4 separate regions of the Homo sapiens genome follow, and all the other regions are linked to region 1. The links are contacts of gene promoters, found by promoter capture Hi-C in blood cells and fetal thymus (Javierre and others, 2016). All regions are on one chromosome and are shown on one strand. Each heading gives the region's core, a stretch centred on a gene start or on the middle of the fragment in contact. The rest is flanking DNA. Distances are from core to core; before and after follow the strand shown.

Region 1 (5,518 bases), core at 1,195-3,694:
GGGAGGTGTCATGTCAATAAATAAAGCCAATAGAGTTGGGTTCCCAGACCTTATCCACTCCCCAGTCTCCAGCTTTGACTCCTGTTCATGGGACTTTGGCAGGGCCCCTAGGAAGGCATCAGAGCTAGGGTGGGGCCAGGGCTAAGTGGGCAGGGAGGGGCCTACCTGGTGAGGAGTGCTCTGAGAGCCGGAACAGCATGGCAGGCGTTGGTCTCCTGCGCCGGATCTAAGGAGATGGAGGGAGGGGTGACTGGATGGACACCTGCAGCCCTCCCCCACCCCCAGGCAGCAGGGAACAAACAGTGCTTTGGAGTCCCCAGGGAACCTTTGAATCAAAGTCTGTCAGAGCCAAAAGGAACTCTGTAGCTCACCTAACCCCCTCATTTTACAGAGGTGAAAAAGCAGGGCTCAGAGAGATTTGGCAATGTGCTTAAGGCCACACAGCACAACAAGTCCAAAGGACGAGAAAAACCCCAGTCACTGACTCCCAGCCCATGCCTGTCCCACTCCATGGCTACTCCAGAACAGACATCTCCCTTCCTATCTTCTCCCACCAAGGCCCTTCCTCTCTCCAGTTTCTGAAAACATCAGACCTCGGAAGCCAAAGCTGGCTACAGCTCCAGCTGCCACGGCTGGGCCCTCTGGGGAAGATGCCCCACGGGCCATGGCACCCATGTGGCCCTGCCCACCTAAGATCAGCTCAAGGGCTTCAAACAAGCTGGATCCAGCTTTTCAGAAGGAGACTGAGCCAGCGCACTGCAGGCACCCCCCACCTCCAGCTGAGGCTCAGGGACCCAAAGGGGCCTGGGGGACCTCTCTGGGGGCCTTGGTTTGGGCTTCTTTTCCAGTCTCTGTAAGGCTGCAGAACTCTTCACCCAGTCCTTGTGAGAAATGAAAAGTTGCCCTCCTTGCTACGTGAGCCAAGCAGCAACTGACCGCCCCCCTCCCCGCCCCGCCCCTCAGCTTGGCAATCAGACCAACTGTCAGTTAATTAGGTCCCTGTTGAGCTCCAGGGAAATGCACAAAGAGAACCAGGTGAGTTAAGCTGAAACTGCCACCTCCCCAGCCAAGCTCCCCATGACACCCTCATGACCCAAAGCTGCTTAGGCCCAGGACTGTACCCCCTGCCCTCTATCTCCCCCCATAATGACTTGGCCCCCTCATCACTGCTCAGTGGGGAGCCAGCTGCATCTCAGCTCAGCAACAAGTGACCCCTGCTCCACTAGGGATGGGAAGTGGAGCTCTCTGTCACAGCACCCGCCAGCCTTTGGAAGCCCCTCAACCCCCAAGAAGGCCCTCAGGAGGACTCAGTAGTCTGTGGGAAGAGGTCTGGCTTTGTGATGACTCCCCACCTCTCCCTCCTTGGGGTTGGGGCTCTGGGGCCTGACAGCAGGAGGCCAGAGCCAGGTTCTGGAGACCCCAGCCCAGGCACACACGCGGGATTAGAGAGGGGCAGGGTAGTGGATTCACCCGGTGGCAGCCTCATACTCCTGCCCTGGGTGACAAGGTCAGTGTCCACCGCTGCTCACATCTGACCAGCTCTGGGACAGAGCCAGGCGGAGCGGTCCCGGTGGTAGCCTAGGAGACTGACTACCCTTTGGGGACTGTGCTGGGACCAAAGGACGCCCCCACCCCACTCCTGGGCGGTCTGGAATCGGCCTGTCCCCCCACCCCCGCACCCCCAGCCTCACTGCCAGGAACTCTCTTGCCCCGGGATCAGGACCAAAGCCGCGGGGAAAAGTTGCACGAGTCTCCAGCTAACTTCACACGCGGCCCCGCGCCCCGTCCTGACCGAGGCAGAGCCCGGCTCTCCTTGCGCCCCCACCCCCAGGCCAGTCCGGCCGGGGCAGCGCCTTGGGAGGGCGAAGAAGCCCCGCGGGGTGTGTCGGGTACGCTGCCGGGGTGGGGCACGGGCCCCTTACCATCTCCACCTGGCGGGGGTCGAGCTGGCTAGGGGGCGCGGGCACCGAGAACTGGATCTTCTTGCGGTCCTTGGGGTCCATGGCGCGCGGGGTGGGCGGTGGGGCTGGGGTGCGCGACTCGGGGTCCCGGCGGCGGTCTGTGCTGGGCTCCCCCGCGCAGGCGGCGGGCTGTGCGGCGAGAGGAGGAGGAGGGCTGTTCGCGCACGGATAAAAATACCGTGCCCGCCGAGGGGAGGGCGCGGGAGCGGGAGGAGGGTCGGCGCCCGGGCTGGGCGCGCCCCCAGGCTCTCGGGACTCGGGGCTCGCCCCCCGCGCTCGCTGAGCCAGGTCTGTGCCTCGCTCCCTCGCGCTCCCCGGCCTGGGTGTCTCTGCGTCTCGGTGTCTCTCCCCTCCTGAGTGTCTCTGCGTCTCGGTGTCTCTCCCCTCCTGAGTGTCTCTGCGTGTCTCCTCTCTCTGCCTCTCCCGTCCTTCTCCACCTCCCTCCCTCAGCCTCTCCTCCTCTCCGCGTGTGTCTCTGCCTCTGCCGGGCTCACCCTCCGGTCCCAGCTTTGGGGTCCCCAGCCCGTCCCCTCCGCCTGGGACTGGCGCCCGGGTGCTCGGAGGGAGGGTTTAGGGGAAACTGGCCAATGAGCATGGAGAATCGTGTTCTCCTGGGGCTGGGAGGAGGGTGGGAGTTAGAGCCAAGGCCTGGGGAGCCAGCTGGGGGGCCCCCTGCGGTCTCCCCAGAACTTGAAGCTGCATTATTGATGGAGTCCAGCAGAGAGGATAAAGGGGGAGGGAGGGGGAGAGGGGCAGCGGGGAGGCAGGACTCTGGCTTTAACCCCTTCGTGGTCCTGGTACTGGGAGTTTCAGAGAGGCCTGCGAGGTCGTGGGGAGAGTACCAGCCTGTCACGCTGTGAATGGGGGTGTCCTGGAAAGGGAGCGAGTGTGACCGAGTTGTGTGTGGGAGGACACGTGTCAGTCATCGTGGCAGGGAGAGTGTGCAGGGGTGTGCCGGGGCCCTGTGGTGCCCATAGCCAGGGAGTGTGTTTTGGGGGGTCCGGTGTGGTGTGAGTGTGTCTGTGTAAGTGTGTCAGAGTGTCAAAGATGCAGGTGTGAGTGGCAGGGTGTGGGAGGACTGCGTGTGTGCGGGGGAGGGTGTGGGTGTGGGGGAGGATGTCAGAGGCTGTCAAGGTGATGGGCAGGCGTGTGCCAGCTTGCAGGGGGTGGGGGACTGTATCCACAGCTCCGCTGTGCAGTTGCTGGGGTATGAGGTTGTGGATGTGTGAGCGCTCCTGTGAGGGAGAAGGGGAATGTGCCCTGCCATGATGTACTGTAGATTCACGTGGCTCCTGTCTTTCCTCTCCGGATCTAATGGGGTGGGGAGGACAGGGCCGGCCCAGAGTTGGGGTGGGTTTGGGGGCTGCCTGTACACGTGCCATCACGTGCATGAATTTGGTGCATTCAGAAGCAGGGTTGGGGGAGACAGGTGTGAGCCTCTCTCTCTCCAGAGGTATTTGTGTGTGTCTCTGGAGCGGGAGCGGGAGGAGCTGGCCCTGTGGGTGGAATGTCCCTGTCTATTTGGTCTATTTGTCCGGGCCTTGGGTGCCTTTGCAGGAGCTGCTGTTTCCCTCCTTGGAGCTGTGCAGAGGGTCTGAATGCTTCTGTCTAGCACTGAGAGGGTGTGTGTAGACGTGTACATGCATGTTTTCCTGGGGCTCTGTTTGTGTTGGCGTCCTCTCTCCTGGTCACTCTCAGGCCTGAAACCCCCAATCCTCCTGCAGCTTTTCCACTCCCAGCCCCAGCATCTGGGTCCTGGGTGGAGTGAAAGGCCAGAGGAATCTTCTGGAATTGGGGTCAGGGCCCACTCTGGGGGTGAGGGAAAGGGTGGCAGGAGGTCCAGAGTGTTGCTCATAGGAGTGGGATGTCCTGGCCATCCAGCTCCACATCAGCCCACCCCAGGCCTGGCTCAAGTCCCTGTATGTTTGTTGACTTATATACTTGTTGGGAAACAGCTGGATGATAAGTTGTTGGCCCAGGGGTGTAGGCATCTCTGGCAGCCCCTAGGCTTGGCCCAGAACCTCTGTCGAAGATGGGGTGTGGTGGGGAGTGGCAAAGACCTGTTTGGCAGTGCCTTCGGAGGGTAAATAAGGAGGTCCTGAAAGGAAGAAGGGGTATGGGAAGGGCATGGCCCAGGCAGTGGCCCGGACAGCCACTGGGTGGGCAGAGGTGGGGAAGGGGCTTGTGGCTTCCAGTGCTGGCAGTGTGGGGAAGGATCGTGGGGATGAAGGGGACAGAGGATAGCTGGGAGGGTGATGAGAGGGTGGAGACAGGGAGGCATCAGCACCAGTTGCACCTCAGAGCCCATAGGAGCTGAAAAGGCCTCAGGGAACATGGCAGCTGAGCCCCATTTGAGCAGGAGGGCTTATTTACGGAGGCTCTGCTGAACTTATTGGAGCTCTGGGAGACCCCAGATCAGGAAACATTCCCCGGATCCCAGGCTGGGGCAGCTGAGAAGGGAGATGAGGGCAGAGAAGCCTCCCTCTCAGCTAGGCCTGGAAGATGAGGTCTTTGGGAGCGGAGGGAGGGTTTTTGCCCATCTCCCCCAGCCTGTGGCCAGGCTGGCATCTAAATCCTGGGGCCAAGAAGGGTGGGGAAGACTGGCTGACAGAGGGACAGACATGAAGGAGGAGGAAGAGACTGCACAGAGACAGGACGTGAGAGAGAGATTGGGGGGAGAGAGGAGAAAGCAAAGAGAGACAGAAAACATGGTTGAGAGATGGAGAGACAAAGGGAGGCAGAGAGAGAGACAGCGAACCTCACAACAGAGAAAGGCAGAAGACAGAGATGGAGAGAGAGTAAAAATAGCTCAGCATTAAGATAATTGCAGCTCGCAGCTCTGCCCTCCGTTAGGAATTAAATGAGGTTTTATTACTTTGATTTTTCTCTCCTGGATCCTACGCGACTTCTCAAGAACTTGGGGAAAAGTTTTTCAGGTGGGCGGCCAGGTGGTGGGGGCTGTGTGGGCGACAGAGGAGGAAGGGAATGGGACTCCTGAGAGCTGGAGGAGGGGTGGGCAGGGGCAAGGAGTGGGGAGGGGCTGCTGGGGACAGTGGAGTCCGGCAGGGGCTGGGGGAGATGGCTAGGACCAGGCACAGGGTGGGGGTGGGAGGGCACTGAGAAGCAAGGGGCCAGGGTGCCCTGCATTCACTTTGACTTAGAATTAATCATATGCAAATAAGATGTAAAAATAATATGCCACTCCTTGGTTATTATTCTTGGGTTAGAAGCACAGGCGGTTGGGTCCAAGGAACAAATTCAAGACCTCATTTGACGTAACTCTGATTGAACTGTGGGTCTCTCTGCTTGGACTGACAGAAAAAGTTGACGGTAGGGTGTCTATTAATGTACCATAGGTCTGAGCACACTATTTTGAGGCGTTTCTTTCCCATCATGTATCTTCACGCCATTGCTGGATGCCTGCCGCGGGGCCTGGCGTGCAGGAGGCCCTGCATTCACCTTTGGAGGGAAAATCTGGGAGGGTGGTGTGAGGCCTTTGCCCTCTTCCCCGGATGGGGGGAGAAGGGACACTGGGATCTGTCCCTCCCTCCTCCCAA
Region 2 (6,387 bases), core at 1,884-4,383, 660 kb before region 1:
GTAAAAGGATGTGCAAGACCTCTGCCTCTTCCAGAAAGAGGTGAATTTCTACCTTAGTCAGAACCACCAAAATAAAATGCCTTCTCACTTAGCAGCAAATATTGGTCACCAGATGGCACCACTGATCTTACTACAGTAGTCCCTTCATCCACCGTTCTAGTTACCCTCAGTCTGAAAATACTAAATGGAAAATTCCAGAAATAAACAATTGACAAGTTTTAAATTGCATGCTGTGGAGTGCCATGATGAAATCCCGCACCATCCTACCCAAGACATGAATCATCCCTTCAGCCAGCATATCCACACTGTATATGCTATCCACCCACTAGTCACTTAGTAGCTGACTTGGTTATCAAATCAAAAACACAGTATATGTAGGGTTTGGTACTGTCCTCGATTGCAGGCGTCCACTGGGGGTCTTGGAATGTATCCCCCATGGATAAGTGGGGACTACTGCATTTAGTAGAAACCAAATGGGTTTTAGTAGGATGAAATTGTAAGGCTATTTTGAAACAGGTTTTCTCAACCTTGGCACCACTGACATCTTGGACCAAATAATTCTTCATTGTCAAGGAGCTGTCCTGTGCATTGTAATGTCTAGCAGCATCCCTGGCCTCTACCCACTATGCCAGTAGCAACCCCCAGCTGTAACAACCAAAAATGTCTCCAGAAACAACCAAATTACCCCCCATTTAAAAATAAATGTTCCAAAACAAGAAAGAATTACCAATCACTGTCCTAAAGGATGGAAAATATTCATCATGTCACGTTTTTGTTTCTTTTAATTTCACAAATATTGAGGTAAGTTTCATAATACCATGTAACTACAAGGTAACTTAAAACATTGACAGAACTAAGTTCAGTATTAAGGAATTGAAGATCAGACTTATTAAGTAGTTCAGAGTGACCTCAGTAAGTGTCTAACTCTGGAGTTCGGTAAGCACTTAGCAACCATTCTGAAAATAACTAAAATGAAGAGTAGTCTTAGGCCAGGAGCGGTAGCTCATGCCTATAATCCCAGCACTTTGGGAGGCCGAGGCAGTTGGATCACCTGAGGTCAGGAGTTCAGAGACCAGATTGGCCAATATGGCAAAACCCTGTCTCAACTAAAAATCCAAAAAAAAAAAAAAAAAAAATTAGCCAGGCTTGGTGGTGGGCGCCTGTAATCCCAGCTACTTGGGAGGCTGAGGCAGGAGAATCGCTTGAACCCAGGAGGCGGAGGTTGCAGTGAGCCAAGATCGCACTATTGCACTCCAGCCTGGGAGATGGAGCGAGACTCTGTCTCAAAAAAAAAAAAAAAAAAAAAAAGAAGTCTTAACTGAACTTAGAAAGCTCCTTCAAAGGACACACATCTTACCAAGAAAAGAAAGGTCACGAGCTGCTAGTGAAAAAGTGATATAATGGATGGTTTACCCAGACGTTTCCTGGGGCTGAGAGGCAGGGCTTTTACACGAGGAGAACAGGTTACGGTTTGGACATTTGTTGGTTCTAGTTTGGCATCACTGGAGTTTTTAGCTTTGTTCAATGCCCGAGACAGCTTCCTTTTTGGAAAACTGATTGTAGCCTGTGCCTGGGATCGGGTTTGAGGCATGACGACAGCACAGCTAGATTAAAAAAAATAAGAGGACAACTAGTCAATATGTGAAAGTGAAGAGAAAATAACTAACATGGAATTTATTTATACTGATGATTAACACTTATTTCCTAATTATGTTATCACACTTATTTTAGCATTCACTTTTGCTTCACATCCAAATCTATGCAAGAACAGCTGACATTTGTTGTCTACCTACTACGTGGAAGGGCGCTGTTATAAACACTTTAGGTACCAACTCGTTTAACAACGATCTTAGGAGTAGGTACTATTATTAGCCTTTATTTTACACATGAGAAAACTGAGATAAACAGTGGCCCAAAGTCACAGAAAAACAGGAATGTAACCCCGGGCATCTGGTGCCAGAGCCCAAGTTCTTAACCAATTGAGCGATGCAATAACAAGTTACCTGAAATGGGCCGGGCGCGGTGGCCCACGCCTGTAATCCCAGCACTTTGGGAGGCTGAGGCGGGCGGATCACCTGAGGTCAGGAGTTCGAGACCAGCCTGACCAACATGGAGAAACCCCGTCTCTACTAAAAATACAAAAATTACGGCCAAACGCGGTGGCTCACGCCTGTAATCCCAACACTTTGGGAGGCCGAGACGGGCCGAGACCATCCTGGCTAACACGGTGAAACCCCGTCTCTACTAAAAATGCAAAAAATTAGCCGGGCGTGGTGGTGGGCGCCTGTAGTCCCAGCTACTCGGGAGGCTGAGGCAGGAGAATGGCATGAACCCGGGAGGCGGAGCTTGCAGTGAGCCGAGATCGCGCCACTGCACTCCAGCCTGGGAGACCGAGCGAGACTCCGTCTCAAAAAAAAAAAAAAAATTAGCCGGACGTGGTGGCGGGCGCCTGTAGTCCCAGCTACATGAAGAGGCTGAGGCAGGAGAATGGCTTGAACCCGGCAGGCAGAGGTTGCAGTGAGCCGAGATCGCACCACTGCACTACAGCCTGGGCGACAAGAGCGAGACTCCGTCTCAAAAAAAAAAAAAAGTTACATGAATTGATTTATATAGAACTTCTAGTTTCCTCCCTCCAGGCACGCGGGGTGTCTTTATCACCAGTTCAGCCCAGCACCCGCCACATTTAGTCTCTTCTATCCCAAGCCCTCACACTGCAGCTCAGTCTTCCCTCAGTTCTTTCCGCCCCTGCACTCAGTCCTCATTCTAGGCAGCTCTCAACGCACCCCAGAATATTTCCTTCCTACAACTTTCACCTCCTTCACACCACGCATAACTGCTAGAACTACCCCGAGGGCACCTGCCCTTTCCCTGATCCCGACCTCAGACCTCCAGCGAGCTCAGCTCTTTTCCCTTCACTTCACCTCAGGCCTCGCCGGAACCCGCAGCCTTCACCCAGCTCCGCTGCCTCACAGACCCCAGGCCTCCTCGAGCAATCCTCTTCTTTCCACCTCCTCAGTGCAGGATCCTTCTCACGTCTCTCACACGCAGCCTCTCGGACTCACCACCACAAGCCCCTGAACAAACTGCACAGCGGCAGCAGCAAACTCCAGCCGCGCTCGCGCCAAATCCGAATGGCCACAGCGTTCCCACCTCCCGCCAAAGCCCGGCCTCGATTCTGATTGGCTGTAGTCACAGAGCCTTTCGCCTTGGGCACCGCCTCTTTTTTTGCTACCAATCCAGTGGAAGAGTTACAGCCAATGAGAGAGCCCCAAGTCTTAGAGTCGCTGTGAGGCCACGACCACTGAACGGGGGAGGGAATCTACATCCGGGGCCTCGGTGGAAAGACGCGCGATTGCGGCAGGGCGACTCTGGGTAAAGCGGGCCGGCCCGCCGCAAAGCACGCTGGGAGGCGTAGTCTTTGCTGCCGCGCAGTCGCACTCTTCCTTCGACTGGAAGTGTCAAGATGTGGTTCCCCTTCTCACTGCCTAAAGTACCCATTTGCATCATCCTGATGGGCTAGATTTTCAGAACTGCTACATGATACCTACCGTTTTGGGTTCTGTGCGCCAGGTATGATGCTAGGCACTTTCCTTACCTCTCTAATGCTCAACCTCGCAAAGTACAAAGCAAACTTCTATACAAGGTTAGAGGTCACAGCATCTTGGTGACAGTGAAGAGCCTAGGATCCAGATCTCCTGATGGCTGAACTAGTGATTTTTATGGTAAAGTTCTACACACCTATATAAAGAAAAACTATGCTTCATCATAGTATCTCTTGATTTGTGCTTCAAAGGTGAGAAACAGAGCCAACTCTTTACTTTTATTTCGTTCAACCTAAGAATATTATGTTCTGTGCATCTTCTTACCATTAATCCACACATCATGGGGAGGGAATTATGACCCCTTAATTTTAAAATCTTTTATGGCGAAACACTAGGGTTTCAGGGCCAGGGAAGACAGCTATATAGAAGAGGCAAGCTGAGTTTTTAATGAAAAATATAAATTAGCGCAGTAATTTGAAGGCCAGCTTCCAAAGCCAATAATTCATCTAAGCCTCAGGTTCCTTTAGAGGCCAGAACCCAATTCTAGGTGATGGTAAACATTTATCTTTTACCCCTCAGTAACAAACAAAATAGAGCCATAAAGCCTAGAAAGAGGGAAGCAACAATATTACGATCATCAGTGAATTGGTACCTAGTTCATGAAGAGAGCCAATATTGAGTGCTTAAGTGTATGCCAGGGGCTGTGCTCAGTATTTTACCTACATCACCTTATTAATCTTCACAAGCACCCCCATGAACCTGGTGTTATTTCACTTTACAAATGAGGGAACTACAGTAGAGGGGAGTTGAGTAAACTTGCCCAAGGTCACACAACTAGTAAGTGGAAGAGCTAGAATTTGAACTCTGAACTCTGACAGAAAATCAAACTCTTGACCACTTTATCATAGGGGGATGATTAGACAGATTCAGGTTCTAAACAGGAAGAGATGGTGGAGTACATTTCGTGAAGGCTTTTTAGCAGCTGAAAACTACAAAAGTGAAGAGAATGGGCTGCCATGAATGGAGAAAGTTACCACACAATGGAAGCTTTTTTTTTTTTTATTTTTGAGACAAGTCTCATTTTATCACCCAGGCTTGAGTGCCGTGCCATGATCTCGGCTCACTGCAATCTCCACCACCTGGGTTCAAGCCATTCTCCTGCCTCAGCCTCCTGAGTAGCCGGGACTACAGGCACGCGTCACCACGCCTGGCTAATATTTGAATTTTTAGTAGAGGGGTTTCACCATGTTGGCCAGGTTGGTCTCAAACTCCTGACTTCATGATCCACCCACCTCAGCCTCCCACAGTGCTGGGATTACAGGCATGAACCACCGCTCTTGGCCACAGTGGAAGCTTTTAAAAGGACTAGATGGTATTTCTGATGTCTTAGTAGGATAGTAGAACTCAGGAAGCAACCTTCACTGTTCGTATTTTTATAACATGGGCACCTAAGAATTGCCCTTAATAACCTGAAATGGTAATGTGTGCCCAGCCAGCTGTAAGGGGTGGTTATGGTAAACAACCTAGGAAGCTATGAGTACTTAGCATGCATATTGGAACCTATGAAAACACCAGGAAATGGCTGGGTGCGGTGGCTCACGCCTGTAATCCCAGCACTTTGGGAGGCTGAGGCGGGTGGATCACGAGGTCAGGAAATCGAGACCATCCTGGCTAACACGGTGAAACCCCGTCTCTACTAAAATACAAAAAAATTAGCCAGGCGTGGTGGCGGGTGCCTATAGTCCCAGCCACTCAGAAGGCTGCGGCGGGAGAATGGTGTGAACCCGGGAGGTGGAGCTTGCAGTGAGTGGAGATCACGCCACGCCACTGCACTCCGGCCTGGGCGACAAAGCGAGACTCCGCCTCAAAAAAAAAAGAAAAGAAGACACTAGGAAACATAGCAGTGGCCCAAGAAAAGCCTACAGGTGTAAATGACCACTGTGGAAGCAGGCAAATAATCACAGAATGTCAGGACTGAAAGGTTATCTACTTGAAGCTTTTCCTTTGCACTAATAATGATCCTCCAGTAACGTGATGCGTACACATCATATTGTTTCTTGCTTCTGTGCCTTTGTTTTTGCTGTTTCCTCTGTCTGGAATGCCACTAACCATCCATCTTCCCTGGCTAACTCCCATAAAGCCTTTTAATATCCTGCATAGGTTTCTCCTGGTAGCTATCCTGAAGTCTACTAAACTATGAGTTCCTTGGAGTCAAAGACCATGTCTTAGCCTTGCACAGTGGCATGCATCTGTAATTCCAGCTACTCGGGAGGCTGAGGTGGGAGGATCCCTTGAGCCCAGTTTGAGGACAGCCTGGACAACATAGGGAGACCCATTTCCAAGTTGGAAAAAAAAAAAAAAGACTTTTTATTTGGAGTCTCGCTCTGTCGCCCAGGCTGGAGTGCAGTGGCACAATCTCAGCTCACTGCAACCTCCACCCAACCGGGTTCAAGCAACTCTCCTGCCTCAGCCTCCTGAGTAGCTGGGATTACAGGCGCCCATAATTTTAGTAGACGGGGTTTCACCATATTGGACAGACTGGTCTCAAACTCCTGACCTCAGGTGATCCACCTGCCTCAGCCTCCCAAAGTGCTGGGATTACAGGCGTGAGCCACCGCGCCCGGCAAAAACAGACTTTTCATCTTCATATTGTAGATGCCTGGTACAGAGTAAAGTGTACAATAAGAGCTTGCTGAATGAAGGAATGGAAAGGACATTCTTGCCAAGTGGACATCCACCCTTTGCATAAACACTTGTGGCTGGAGAGCATACAGTCTTTTAAGTCTCACACCCCTAAGCCTAGGAATGGAGAATGAATTCAATTATGTGTGAAAATGATCCAGAC
Region 3 (6,309 bases), core at 1,456-3,955, 550 kb before region 1:
AGGGATGAGGGTGAGGAAACGAGAGGCCTGACATCCTTCATAGACTTTATCTCACAGGATTCCTAAGCTGGAGCAAAGGAAGAGTAAGATGGGGCAGAGTTGGGGAGATGCTGATATGGGGGCCACAGTTGGGCATCTGTCTTTTCCAAAGCAGGCTCTGGGCCAATGTACAGCCTCCCTAGGGAATGTGTCATAGAGACACAGGGTGTGTGGTGTAGGCGGGAAGTTATGGTTAGGAGAGCTGTGTGTGTCTGATATTTTTCTAATTAAATCCAAAAGGTGTCAGCTCCCCAGGGCAACTACAGCCTGCTCCAAAGGAGAGGACCCAGGTCTTGAGAAGGATCTAGGAGAGTGGAGCCCCCCTCCACACATCTAGGTTGGGGTTCCCTGCCGAGGGCTGAGAGCAAGTGTGAAAGCCCTCACCATTAGGGCCTCAGCCGGGGCTCCCAAACCTCAGACCCTCCTGGGCTTAGAGTAATGCCTAGAGCTAGACCTAAAGAACCCTCGGTCTTCTACCTCAGAACTAACCAGATTTGGGGCCTTGGTTTCCTCAAAGGCCCCTTAGTAGGGGTGCTGAAAGGGAGTGGTGAAATAGTATCATCATTTAGGGAATAAGCTTCTCAGGGTGTGGTGATTATATTTTAAAGAGGCCGTGTGCCAGGTCCGGTGGCTCACGCCTGTAATCCCAGCACTTTGGGAGGCCGTGGGGTGGGGGTGGGGGGAGGTAGATAACGAGGTCAGGAGTTCAAGACCAGCCTGACCAAGTTGGTGAAACCCCGAAACCCCGTCTCTACTAAAACTACAAAAATTAGCCAGGCCAGTGGCTCACGCCTGTAATCCCAGCACTTTGGGAGGCCAAGGCAGGTGGATCACGAGGTCAGGAGTTCGAGACCATCCTGGCTAACACGGTGAAACCCCTGTCTCTACTAAAAATACAAAAATTAGCCAGGCGTGGTGCCACATGCCTGTAGTCCCAGCTACTCAGGAGGCTGAGGCAGGAGAATCGCTTGAACCTGGGCGGTGGAGGTTGCAGTGAGCTGAGATGGCGCCACTGCACTCCAGCCTGGGTGACAGTGAGACTACATCTCCAAAAGAAAAAAAAAAAAAAGCCGGGTGCTGAGGCCTGCCACCGAAGGGTGGAAGCTGGAGGCGCTTGGACACCCTGGATGCTGCAGGGCCATGATGCCGGCCCAGCCACCTCTCCCCTCCCAGACACCTTCTGAGTCCAGCCCAAGGAGAATACTATCCCCCCCACCAAACTGCTAAGGACAACGCATCCCTTTGCTGATGCCTAAAAGGCAGCTTGGGGCCTGTGCCTGTCTGGCACTGCCTCCCTGGGTGGGTCAGCCTGCGCTGTGTAGGCCTCTGAACAGTCAGGGACCCCAGGGTTTTCAGGGCTAAAGCACCTCTGGCGGGTGGCATGGCTGCGCTGGGCAGCTCCCATTTTAATGTGTCAGGCCCTAATTTGGGGCCACAGGAGGAGGTATTCAACATCAGGGACCCATGGGAGTCAGTGGCTCCAATGCCCAGGGGAAAGGAAGGGTGGCTGAAGGAGAGTAAGAGGCTCAGCTGCTTCTCCAGACGAGGGTGAGGCTGCTGTAGGGAGGAAGGTGAGTACTGCTCTCCTCTTCCGCGGGAGGGTCTGTACCTCCGCTAGGCCCCTAGCCGGCTTCCGCGGACCACTCAACCCTATAACCAAGCCCCGGCACGGCGCCACCCCTACGCTCCAAGGGCAAGGAAGAGGAGCCGGGGCCAGCCCCTGCTCTGGGTGTTCGAGCCCACCGGCTCCTTACCTGAGGCGGCGCTGTCCCTGGTAGCCCCTCCAGCAAGCCGCTCCAGAACCCGGTTCAGAAGATGCTCGGGCCGCTCGGGGGCGCCCAGAGGGGCCCAGGGCGGCGAAGTCAAGGGCTCGCCTGGGGACAGCTCGTCAGATGAGTAGGAGGAAGGGGAGCGCAGGGGCCCCCCTCCCCCGAGAGGCCCGGGCCCCGGCACCTCCTCCAGCTGCAGCCAGCAGGGCCCCCCGCTGCCCGGCTCCTCCGCGACCCCCGCCGGCTCTCCTCCTTCCTCCTCAGGGGGCGGCTCCAGCCCCGGCTCGGCGGGGGGCTCCCGGAGGAAAGCGGGGAGCAGCAGGCGAGACACGCTCTGACGCCGCTGCAACGACCGCTGTCCCCCGGCTGGACCGCCGCCCCCGCCGGGTCCCCCACCCCCTCCAGGCCCACCGCAGCTCCCCAGACCCCCGCCGGGACCTCCCGCCACCGTTCGGCCCGCCAGCTGCGACGTCTGCTTCTTCAGAAATTTCTCCAGCGGCTTCATGCCCCCCCCCGCCCCTCTCCTAGGGGTCGCCGGGGGACCCAGGTATCCCAGGCGCGGGCGGGGGGGGCGGCGAAGACACGATGCTCAGAGCTGGAGGAGCAGAGTAGAGGGCCGTGCCAGGCGCCAGACTGGGGGCCAGAGGGGCCGAGCCTCGCTGGCCAGAGTCCAGTGGCCAGTAGCCGGGGGAGGTGCCAGAGGAAAGGAGTGCTCGCTCTCAGCAACCCCCCATGCCGGCTGCAGCCGGCACGCGGCCCGAAGAGTGGGCAGGCTGCGGGGCCGGTGCGCCCGGCTCTGCGCTGCGGCGGCAGAGGCAGCGGGCGGAGCGCAAGGCTGAGAGGACGCGGCGGCGGCGGCGGCGGCGGCTGCGCTCCTGGCCGTGAAGAGGGGGAAGGTGGCAGAACCGAGACCGCGCCCCCTCCTCCAGTCCCCGCCCAGTCCCCGCCCCTACCCTTCCTCGGCTCGCCCCCGCGCCGCACGAGGCTTGAACTCGCGCGCTGGGGTTGACCGCGAGGGAAACAGTAAGGGACTTGGGTTCTAAGCAGAAGAAATTAAGGGCAAAGGTAAGTCAGAGATTTACCAATGGGGAAGGATTCCTGGCTCAAGGGATAACCGGGTCTCAGCATCATTTCAAAGAGTCAGGACAGGTCTGTGGCCTGGACACCTTCACTCACCTACCTGTGTACCCAAGTCAGGCCTACAGATTGCTGAACCCAAGAGTGTGCACCTTTCTCATACTCACAGAAATATGTGGAGTTTATCTTCCTTCTGTGAGAAGAGCTGGGAAGGCCTCTTGGGTGAATTAGCATTGCCACTGGAGGCGGTGCCCATCTGTCCTCTCTGGTAGGGCACAATAGGTGGTGTGGGCCTGGTCTGTGGGCAGGTACTGGCAGGCAGGTAGGAGCCAGGCAGGGAGCAGCAGGTTGTGGCAGGTCTAGCTGGGGTGAGGAGGGGATAATAGGCAGTGGGGAGGAGACCAGGAGCACAAGGGCACCTGAGCCCAGCTGGCAGCAGAAGGAAGCAGGGCCATGGAGACAGGTGACAAGCCCCAGAACTGCCGACTATCATCAAGCACAGAGCCCAAGTGTACATGGCCATGGAGTGGGAAAAGTGGTGCCAATTAGCACTCCAAGTAATCCTTACTCCTGATGCCCACACCAGGAGCATTCTGTCCTTAAGGATATGCTGCCCCAGAAGGAGTGTGGGGGAGGAGGGGGGTGCATCGTAAAGCCATGCTAAGTGTGAGAACATCCAGGTTAGACTTACAAGGTGTGGGAGTGGCAGCAGGTTCTCGATGGGTTGAGGCTCTCTGGACAATGCCCCACCCCTGTTTACCGAGCACCAACCAGGCAGAGACAGGAATGCTAATGGCTGGGAGTGGTAGTAAAACTGAACAGGGTGTGTATGACATACGTATCAATGTATGTGCATATCTGTTCCCATGTGTGCTAGAGCATGTGTTCACAGAAATAAAGCTTTGCACACCCATCTGTTTGTGGATTTGGAAACAGTAAAAAGAAGACAGCGCACAATTTTGGCTAAGAAGCTGTATTAGAGGTCTGAGTATCAGCTTCCTGTGCTCCCCTTATTGGACACTCCAATATCCCCTGGCTTGAAAGGGGAAAGTGGCTGGAATGGGTTGGAGCTCCCCAGGTAGCATTTTATGAACTGAATAGGAAGAGGGAAGGGCTTCTCTCCCAGCACATGCCACAGTTACCAGATTAAGCCGGTTGCCTTGGTAACCTTCTCTCTGGGCAGGATTTGGGAATTGTTGGTTAGGAAGGGCGAATTGGGGAGTGTGAAGGGTGTAGGGGGTTGAAAATAAAACAGACTGAGAGACTTCTGGAAGCTAGAAGCTTGGGACACAGGACCCCAGTACTCCCCCAAATGCTCAAGGATGTCAGGCAGAGACTAAGTTCAACATTTTGAATCAGTGAGGAGAGCCAGCATCAAGTCATGGTCCTCCTGGAGTGGCAGTGGTTTTCACCCTGACTACACACTGGAATCACAGGGAAGCTTCTCAGAAATACTGATGCTGGCTGGGCTTGGTGGCTCACGCCTGTAATCTCAACACTTTGGGAAGCCAAGGCGGGCAGATCACTTGAGGTCATGAGTTCAAGACCAGCCTGACCAACATGGTGAAACCCCACTTCTAAAAATACAAAAAAAATTAGCCGGGCATGGTGGCACACACCTGTAATCCAAGCTACTTTGGAGGCTGAGGTAGAAGGATTGCTTGAACCTGGGAGGTGAAGGTTGCAGTGAGCTGTTATCATGCCACTGCACTCCAGCCTGGGTGAGAGACTCCATATTAAAAAAAAAAAAAAAATACTGGCCAAGTGCAACAGCTCACGCCTATAATCCCGGTACTTTGGGAGGCCGAGAAGGGTGCAACATGAGGTCAGAAGTTCGAGACCAGTCTGGCCAACATAGTGAAACCCTGTCTCTACTAAAAATACAAACATTTGCTGGGCATGGTGGCTGGTGCCTGTAATCTCAGCTACTCAGGAGGCTGAGGCAGGAGAATCGCTTGAACCCGGGAGGTGGAGGCTGCAGTGAGCCGAGATCATGCCACTGCACTCCAGCCTGGGCAACAAGAGCAAGACTGTCTCAAAAAAAAAAAAAACAAACAAACAAAAAAAAAACTGATGCCTAGGCCATATCTCAGACCAATTAAATCAGATTTCTGAACCAGGGCGAAGGCTTATGGTATTTTTTAAAAAGCTCCTCACATGACACAAATGGCCAGGATTGAAAATCACTGCCCTAGACGGACAGTCAACCCAAGTGGGCTGCAGATGCTGGGAGCTGACTTTGGAATTCCAAGTCTTTGGTGCTCCGAGTTGCCTACAAGGTAGCAGGTCTGTGCGCTGACCCTGAAGGGGAAGAGAGCTGGCAGAGCATTTGCACCCGCTTATGGAAGAAATAAAGAGGAAGGCAGGGTGGTATGAATAACAACTATGAGATGGGGGCGAAAAAGCTTTGAGCTTTTTTTGAGCCCATGGGCTTCTACAAGGGGACTGGGCAGGGCCACCTCAGGCTATCTGTCTGCTGCTTACACACCCTCTTCTTTCTGCCCACCCAGAGGCAGGCTGGGAGGATAGAGAGAACCTGGGGGCTTTGCTGAGCTTGAGTTTCTTCTTGCAGAGCTGGTTACCAGGGCAACAGAGAGAGCAATAGGGTCTAACTGAAGGACTAGGGAAGCAAGAGGCAAGGGTAAAGGGGAAGCATCCAACACTCAAACCTCCTGCCAGTAACCCACCCCCAAGGCTGGATGGCATTTTTTCATAACCCCAGGAGATCAGGCCTACAGTCACCCATCACATTGTGGGGAAGAGAAGCAAACTGACATGATTTAAAGAGGAATTAGGGGCCCAGCGTGGTGGCTCACGCCTGTAATCCCAGAACTTTGGGAGGCCAAGCTGAGCCAATCACCTGAGGCCAGGAATTTGAGACCAGCCTGGCCAACATGGTGAAACCCCATCTCTACTAAAAATACAGAAAAAAAGTAGTGGGGCATGGTGGCGGGCGCCTGTAAACCCCAGCTACTTGGGAGGCTGAGGCAGGAGAATCGCTTAAACCCGGGAGGTGGAGGTTGTGGTGAGCCGAGATCGTGCCACTGCACTCCAGCCTGGGCGACAGAGTGAGACTCAGTCTAAAAAAAAAAAAGGAATTAGGGACGGGGCTCAGAAAAGTCACAGTCCTCTGGCTGTGGCACCAGCACCAAGATATGGGGGAAGTCCCATCTGTCTTTATAAGATGTACAATAGTTGGGCACAGCAGCTCAAGCCTGTAATCCCAGCACTTTGGGAAGCCCAGACAGCGGGATCACTTGAGCCCAGGAATTCAATGACCCTATCTCTACAAAAATAAATTAGCTAGGTGTGGTGGTGCATGCTTGTGGTTTCAGCTACTTGAGAGGCTGAGGTGGGTGGATTGATTGAGCCCAGGTGGTCAAAGCTGCAGTGAGCCACGATTGTGCCATTGCACTCCAGCCTG
Region 4 (6,190 bases), core at 2,976-5,475, 790 kb before region 1:
CTGAGCTCCTACACTAGGCCCCAAAAGACTAGACCAAACCAAGATGGAGTAATTCGTGCTAAATGCCATGTAATCCAACTGAAACTTTAAAGAAGCAGATAGATTCCAAAACAGACCACTTTTTCCTGAAAACAGGAGAGTCCAATCTACCTAAGTCAGTTTAATAAGGAAGTCCCCTCTGCTTTAACTCCACAAAAAAGTAACCTGAAGTACCTGATGTTAACCAATCAGGTTTTTTCCTATTGCTGTTTCCTGGTTCCCACCTTACAAAACCCACCATTCTGCTATTGCCCAATGGAAGCTTTCATTCTATTTTGTAGAATGGGGGCTGCCCCAATTCATGAATCACAAATAAAAGTCAATTTGATCTACAACTGAACTTGTAAGGGAGACTGAGTGACTTGCCCAAAGTCATATACCCAGCAAATACCCTAGTCAGGGATCTGCCTTAAGTACTCAACCACATATTCAAGTACAGGTTGGGGGAGGGAGGGGGTAATGTCCAGGTAGCTACTTTGGGCCCCTGCAGAGTGGGGGCAGGGTGGGTGGATAATGAGGATGGTATCTTTCCCCTCCCCCCACCACAGCCCCCTGGAACTACCCCCAACCCCTTCTTGCCTCCCAGGACTGGCAGGCACCTGCAGTTCCCTCTTTTTTTTTTTTTTTTTTTTTTTTTTGAGACGGAGTCTCGCTCTGTCGCCCAGGCCGGACTGCGGACTGCAGTGGCGCAATCTCGGCTCACTGCAAGCTCTGCTTCCCGGGTTCACGCCATTCTCCTGCCTCAGCCTCCCGAGTAGCTGGGACTACAGGCGCCTGCCACCGCGCCCGGCTAATTTTTTGTATTTTTAGTAGAGACGGGGTTTCACCTTGTTAGCCAGGGTGGTCTCGATCTCCTGACCTCGTGATCCACCCGCCTCGGCCTCCCAAAGTGCTGGGATTACAGGCGTGAGCCACCGTGCCCGGCCCTGCAGTTCCCTCTTTGTGTGCAATGCCTTCCAGGCCCACCCATCCCAGACCCCCACCACTATTCTTTCTTCAATAGTCCCCACAAGTCCTGCAGGACCCCCTGCAATAGGCTCTGGGAAGAGGGAGGGACTGGCAGAGAAATAGCTTGTACCCAGAAGAGAAGGGGGGTGGGCCAGAGCAAGACCACCTTGTGCTACAGAGCTGGAAAAGGATTGTCCCCGACACTTGCATATCTCATTTTGCCCTCTGTGTCTTTGATAAAGGATAATGGCATGGGGAAACCAAGAGACCCAGGAAGAATTCTAACTTAGGTGTGTGTGGCCCCAAAGTCCTTTTGTGTTTTTTGTTGTTGTTGTTGTTTGTTTTTTTGAGACGGGGTCTTGCTCTGTCGCCCAGGCTGGAGTGCAATGGCACGATCTCGGCTCACTGCAACCTCCGCCTCCTGGATTCAAGCTATTCTCCCACCTCAGCCTCCCGAGCAGCTGGGATTACAGGCACCCGCCATCAGGCATGGCTAATTTTTTTTTTTGTATTTTTGTAGAGATGGGGTTTCACCAAGTTGTCCAGGCTGGTCTCAAACCCCTGAACTCAGGTGATCCACCCACCTCAGCCTCCCAAAGTGCTGGGATTACAGGCGTGAGCCACCACACCCGGTCCCCAAAGTCCTTTTGACTCCACAGTACTTCTTCTGGGTTTTTGGAACAAAGACACACAGGATCCAGCTAAACTGCAGGACAGATTTAAAGCTGGGCCCCTAAAAAATAGGGCTGGAGCTGCTTGTTAAATTCCTGTTGCCTCATTGCCCAGTGGGTCACTGCAGGCTGGGATGAGCTACAGGGTAGAGGCCGGGAGCTGCAGAAACTGAGCTGCCATCCTTGGGGAAGCATGCCCACCATCCCCACTACCTTGGAGGTAGTGCGTTCTAGGAGGTAGAAGCCAGCATGGCTGGTTTCTGTCAGGGCCCTCGGGTGTCCTGCAGAGAGTGGCATGCAGGCCCTGGATCCCAGGGCCTGGTCAGTCTTCTGGCTGAGCAGAGGCTACTGGCCAAGCTTCCCTACCACTGCTCTGAGCCCCTGGTGGTCCTGTGCTCTCTAACACATGTGGTGAGCAGAGCAGAGCTGGGAACACGCAGAGACTGCTGGAGGCCAGGGAGCCAAAGGTCAAGAGAGCAGAACAATGCCGAAGCACCATGCCTATGGTTTCCGAGTGCCCCTAGCCCATGGGCAACTTCCATCCTTGGCTTCCTGCCACATCATACGGCTCCCCATTGGCCCTCCCTTGACACACTGTGGTTATGTAACAATGGTTGACCTCTGGTTTCTTTTAGAAGAAGAAAAAAAAAATTACATCCACAATTGTCACACCAGCCTAAGGAAAATTCCTGCTACCTAATACTGTCAGCCCACTGTTTACCTTACACTTCTCTCATGTAACCCTCACACTACTCTGAGATCATAGTTAATTATTCTTTTTAGGAGAGGAAACGGAAGCACCGAGAGGCTTCCTCCATCGAAATGACACGAATGGCAAATTGCTGAGTTGGGACTGAAACCCAGGTAGAGGAAGGAAGCAATGAATGGAAAGAGGTGGCTCAGCTGGAATTAGTAGGCACTCAAATTGTGCAGTTTTTTTTTTTCTGGCTTCTTGTAAGGGTAATAACTTTGTTTAATCCACTCAAACATTTATATGTAAGAGTAATTTTAAAACTTCAGTCTTCGCCGGGCACAGTGACTCACACCTGTAATCCCAGCACTTTGAGAGGCTGAGGCGGGCAGATCACTTGAGGTCAGAAGTTTGAAACCAACCTGGTCAACATGGCAAAACCCTGTCTCTACTAAAAAAATACAAAAATTAGCCAGGCGTGGTGGCAGGCGCCTGTAATTCTAGCTACACGGGAGGCTGAGGCAGGAGAATCGCTTGAACCCGCGAGGTGAAGGTTGCAGTGAGCCTAGATCGCGCCATTGCACTCCAGCCTGGGCGACAGAGTGAGATTCCATCTCAAAAAAAAAAAAAGCAACAAAAAAACAAGCAAACAAAAAAGCTTCAGTCTTGGCATTTCCTTGTCAAATTGGAACAGCTGTTCTGGACTGCAGGGTTCACGGAGGTGAGCAAAAGTAGCCAGTCGGAGGGTATCTGGCCAGCTGGCTGCGGAAAAGGTTTCAGCCCCGGACGGCTGAGCCCACCCTCAGCTCAAGAGGCTACCACCACAAGTTATCCCTTTCGATTTACCAGTTGCAGTCCAGCGCTGCTCTACTGGGGACCTGAATGCTGCCCTCCATTTTGCAAAGCCTTTCTACATCCTTCCACTATATGGAACCCCCAAACCACAACTGTGGCACTTTTATTTTAATTATTTTTATTATTTATTTATTTATGTATTTATCTCTTGAGGTGGCCTCGCTCTGTCACTCAGGCTGGAGTGCAGTGGAGCAATCACGGTTCAAGGCGCCTCGATCTCCGATCCCCGGGGCTCAAGCGATCCTCCCTCCTCAGCCTCCGGAGCTGGAGTTACAGGTGTGCGATGCCTCGCCTGGCTATTTTTTTTCCTTTTTGGGTAGAGACGGGGTCTCGCTATGTTGCCCAGGCTGGTCTCCAACTCCTAGGCTCCAGCGATCCTCCCGCCTCGGCCTCCCAATGTGCTGCGAATACAGACTCCAGCCACCGCACACAGCCTACTTTTATTTCTTTGAAAAATGAATTCGAGGGTAAAGGGGGCGGGGTTGAGGCAGATGCCAGAATCTGTTCGCTTCAACCAAGCAGCCAGGCTGCCTGTCCAGAAAGCCGGCACTCAGTTTCCTCAGGAAAACGAAGCTAAGGCTCCCATTCCCCTCGCTAACAACGTCAGAACAGAGGACAGTTTTTAGATTTCAGGGATCTTAAATAGATTGGCAGTTCCTGGAGAATAAACATCCTTTGCTTTTCTCCTGCACACTTTTGCCTCAGGCCACCCCTTCCCGCTTCCAAAGCCCATCTCTTCCAAGCTTTCCGCACGAGAAAACAAGTGAGCCCTTCTCATTGGCCAGATTCCCTGTCAATCTCTCCGCTATGACGCCGAGTGGTGCCTTTTGAAGCCTCTCTAGTCCCGCCTCCCTAACCTGATTGGTTTATTCAAACAAACCCCGGCCAACTCAGCCGTTCATAGGTGGATATAAAAGGCAAGCTACGATTGGTTCTTCTGGACGGAGACGGTGAGAGCGAGTCAGGGATTGGCTGGTCTGCTTCGGGCGGGCTAAAGGAAGGTTCAAGTGGAGCTCTCCTAACCGACGCGCGTCTGTGGAGAAGCGGCTTGGTCGGGGGTGGTCTCGTGGGGTCCTGCCTGTTTAGTCGCTTTCAGGGTTCTTGAGCCCCTTCACGACCGTCACCATGGAAGTGTCACCATTGCAGGTACGGCTCGCGGGGGGGACTGGCGGTGGAGCCTCCGCGCGGCCCGGGCATCTCTCTGGCCGCCCGTGACGGGTGAAGCTCTGGGGCTGCGGTCAGGCCGGCGACCGGCTTGGGAGCCCATATTCTCCATTCCCGGTTCCGGGGTGATCGTGGAGAGGCGGAAGCCCCTTCTGGTGCTAGTAGTGAAGTATGACCCGGCTTCCAGGGTGTCGTGCGTTGTTGCCCTGTTTCTAGGGGCAGGAGTCCGTTGGTCCCGTAGTGGATCCATGTTACAGCGGCCCGGGTGCGACGTTATTGAGTCGCGCGTACAGATGCTTTCCCCTCCTGCCCGCTGCTTGAAAACGGTCTTGAATGTCCCCGATCTTGGAAAGGGCAGAGCCTAGCACAGTGTTTCTCTGGAGCAGCTGGCCAGCTTACAAAAGCGCCCCCTTCCTGAGTTCACAACGCTCAGGTGGCCAAGGGATTGAACGGATAGCCGCCCAAACTGCTGCTGCCGAACTAGAATTATTTACGGTGTCGTGTGCTCGGGACACCGTAAATAATTTATAATAATAGGCACTCGGTAAATAATGTATGCAGGAACTGAAAGAAGTGGGTGTATTTTATTGATGACATCTACCATGTTGCTCAAGAAAAGAGGTTTCCAGACAGACCCACTTGGTGAGATAATATGTGTCTGTTTAACCTGACACCTGGGGACCTGGCCGCAGCGAATTTAAATTGTCCTATTTGTACAAAACTGGCAACTCCACCACTGCCTACTAACAGATTGCAATGCATGTTGACATCTCACTATGGTAGGCATTTTGTTCCTAGTTTAGGGTAAACTTATGATTAAAAATTCCCTTCTTTCTCTCTTTTTTTTTAATTGCTAGCCTGTAAATGAAAATATGCAAGTCAACAAAATAAAGAAAAATGAAGATGCTAAGAAAAGACTGTCTGTTGAAAGAATCTATCAAAAGAAAACACAATTGGAACATATTTTGCTCCGCCCAGACACCTACATTGGTTCTGTGGAATTAGTGACCCAGGTAAAATCAAGCTCATCAAAGGCAGTTAACCTAGTAGTTGAAATGGATACTCTTCTTTCTGTACCTTTCATGTACTGAGTGTGACCTTTCTGTATCTCTCATGTACTGAGTGTCACTGGAACTGGCCTAAATATGGTAATACTTAATATGAACACTTTATGGTAATCATGATAACAGAACAATGAATATAGAATAAAAATAACAGTATTTCTTTGCCTTATTTCTAGCAAATGTGGGTTTACGATGAAGATGTTGGCATTAACTATAGGGAAGTCACTTTTGTTCCTGGTTTGTACAAAATCTTTGATGAGATTCTAGGTGAGTAAATCCTTTAATATAAAGATCTGGTCAAATCTTTCATAAGAAGTATCATTCCAAATAAAAATTTAAAAAAGATAAAAGTAAAAACAAAAAGTATCATTTCTACCAAACCTGCTGTAGCCAGGGCTCCTGTCATTTCAATCAGTTGATAAAGGTGAGCTGGTTTCCTGGAGCCCAGGAGGTTGAGCTTCTCGTAGAAACAGTACTATGGACAAAAATTGCTAAATTAACACCTTGTTAATGCCACTCCTGTGCTGTTTGGGAACTTTTTTTTCTATATCTTACTTAGAGTTACAGAATGTTTCTTAAAACACTAATTTCTTACAAATGTATATTTTATTTTCTTTCAGTTAATGCTGCGGACAACAAACAAAGGGACCCAAAAATGTCTTGTATTAGAGTCACAATTGATCCGTACGTCTTTTGCTTAGTTTTTGTTATGTAGCTCGTTGCTATTGTTAGCTGCATGTATTTTGATTACTGGTGAA

Evidence for each region. The method cuts DNA at HindIII sites, captures the fragments that hold promoters and counts their contacts. A CHiCAGO score of 5 or more calls a contact.
Region 2: the fragment with the promoter of CDC6 here is called in contact with the fragment with the promoter of PPP1R1B in region 1 in 2 of 17 cell types (non-activated CD4 T cells and naive CD8 T cells); the score reaches 9.4 in non-activated CD4 T cells.
Region 3: the fragment with the promoter of RAPGEFL1 here is called in contact with the fragment with the promoter of PPP1R1B in region 1 in 5 of 17 cell types (total B cells, fetal thymus, naive CD8 T cells and 2 more); the score reaches 11.3 in total B cells.
Region 4: the fragment with the promoter of TOP2A here is called in contact with the fragment with the promoter of PPP1R1B in region 1 in 1 of 17 cell types (neutrophils); the score reaches 7.7 in neutrophils.

The regions. Positions count from the first base shown.
Region 1 is chr17:39,623,878-39,629,395 of GRCh38, reverse strand. It overlaps PPP1R1B (protein phosphatase 1 regulatory inhibitor subunit 1B), which reads right to left and starts at 2,444. Exons shown (of 7, transcript NM_032192.4): 1 at 1,923-2,444; 2 at 166-226. The coding sequence starts at 2,003. The HindIII fragment of the contact is 16,288 bases long and covers 1-5,518 here.
Region 2 is chr17:40,284,625-40,291,011 of GRCh38, reverse strand. CDC6 (cell division cycle 6) reads right to left here and starts at 3,133. Exons shown (of 12, transcript NM_001254.4): 1 at 2,922-3,133; 2 at 1,414-1,604. The coding sequence starts at 1,591. RefSeq lists enhancers at 2,518-2,587, 2,618-2,797, 2,566-3,373. The HindIII fragment of the contact is 8,752 bases long and covers 1-4,591 here.
Region 3 is chr17:40,173,866-40,180,174 of GRCh38, reverse strand. It overlaps RAPGEFL1 (Rap guanine nucleotide exchange factor like 1), which reads right to left and starts at 2,705. Exons shown (of 15, transcript NM_016339.6): 1 at 1,794-2,705. The coding sequence starts at 2,313. RefSeq lists enhancers at 722-1,576, 1,577-2,433, 2,825-3,325, 3,326-3,826 and a silencer at 2,664-2,793. The HindIII fragment of the contact is 3,169 bases long and covers 619-3,787 here.
Region 4 is chr17:40,415,931-40,422,120 of GRCh38, reverse strand. It overlaps TOP2A (DNA topoisomerase II alpha), which reads left to right and starts at 4,225. Exons shown (of 35, transcript NM_001067.4): 1 at 4,225-4,350; 2 at 5,226-5,381; 3 at 5,609-5,699; 4 at 6,053-6,116. The coding sequence starts at 4,330. RefSeq lists enhancers at 2,019-2,561, 4,230-4,319, 4,041-4,566. The HindIII fragment of the contact is 7,280 bases long and covers 3,950-6,190 here.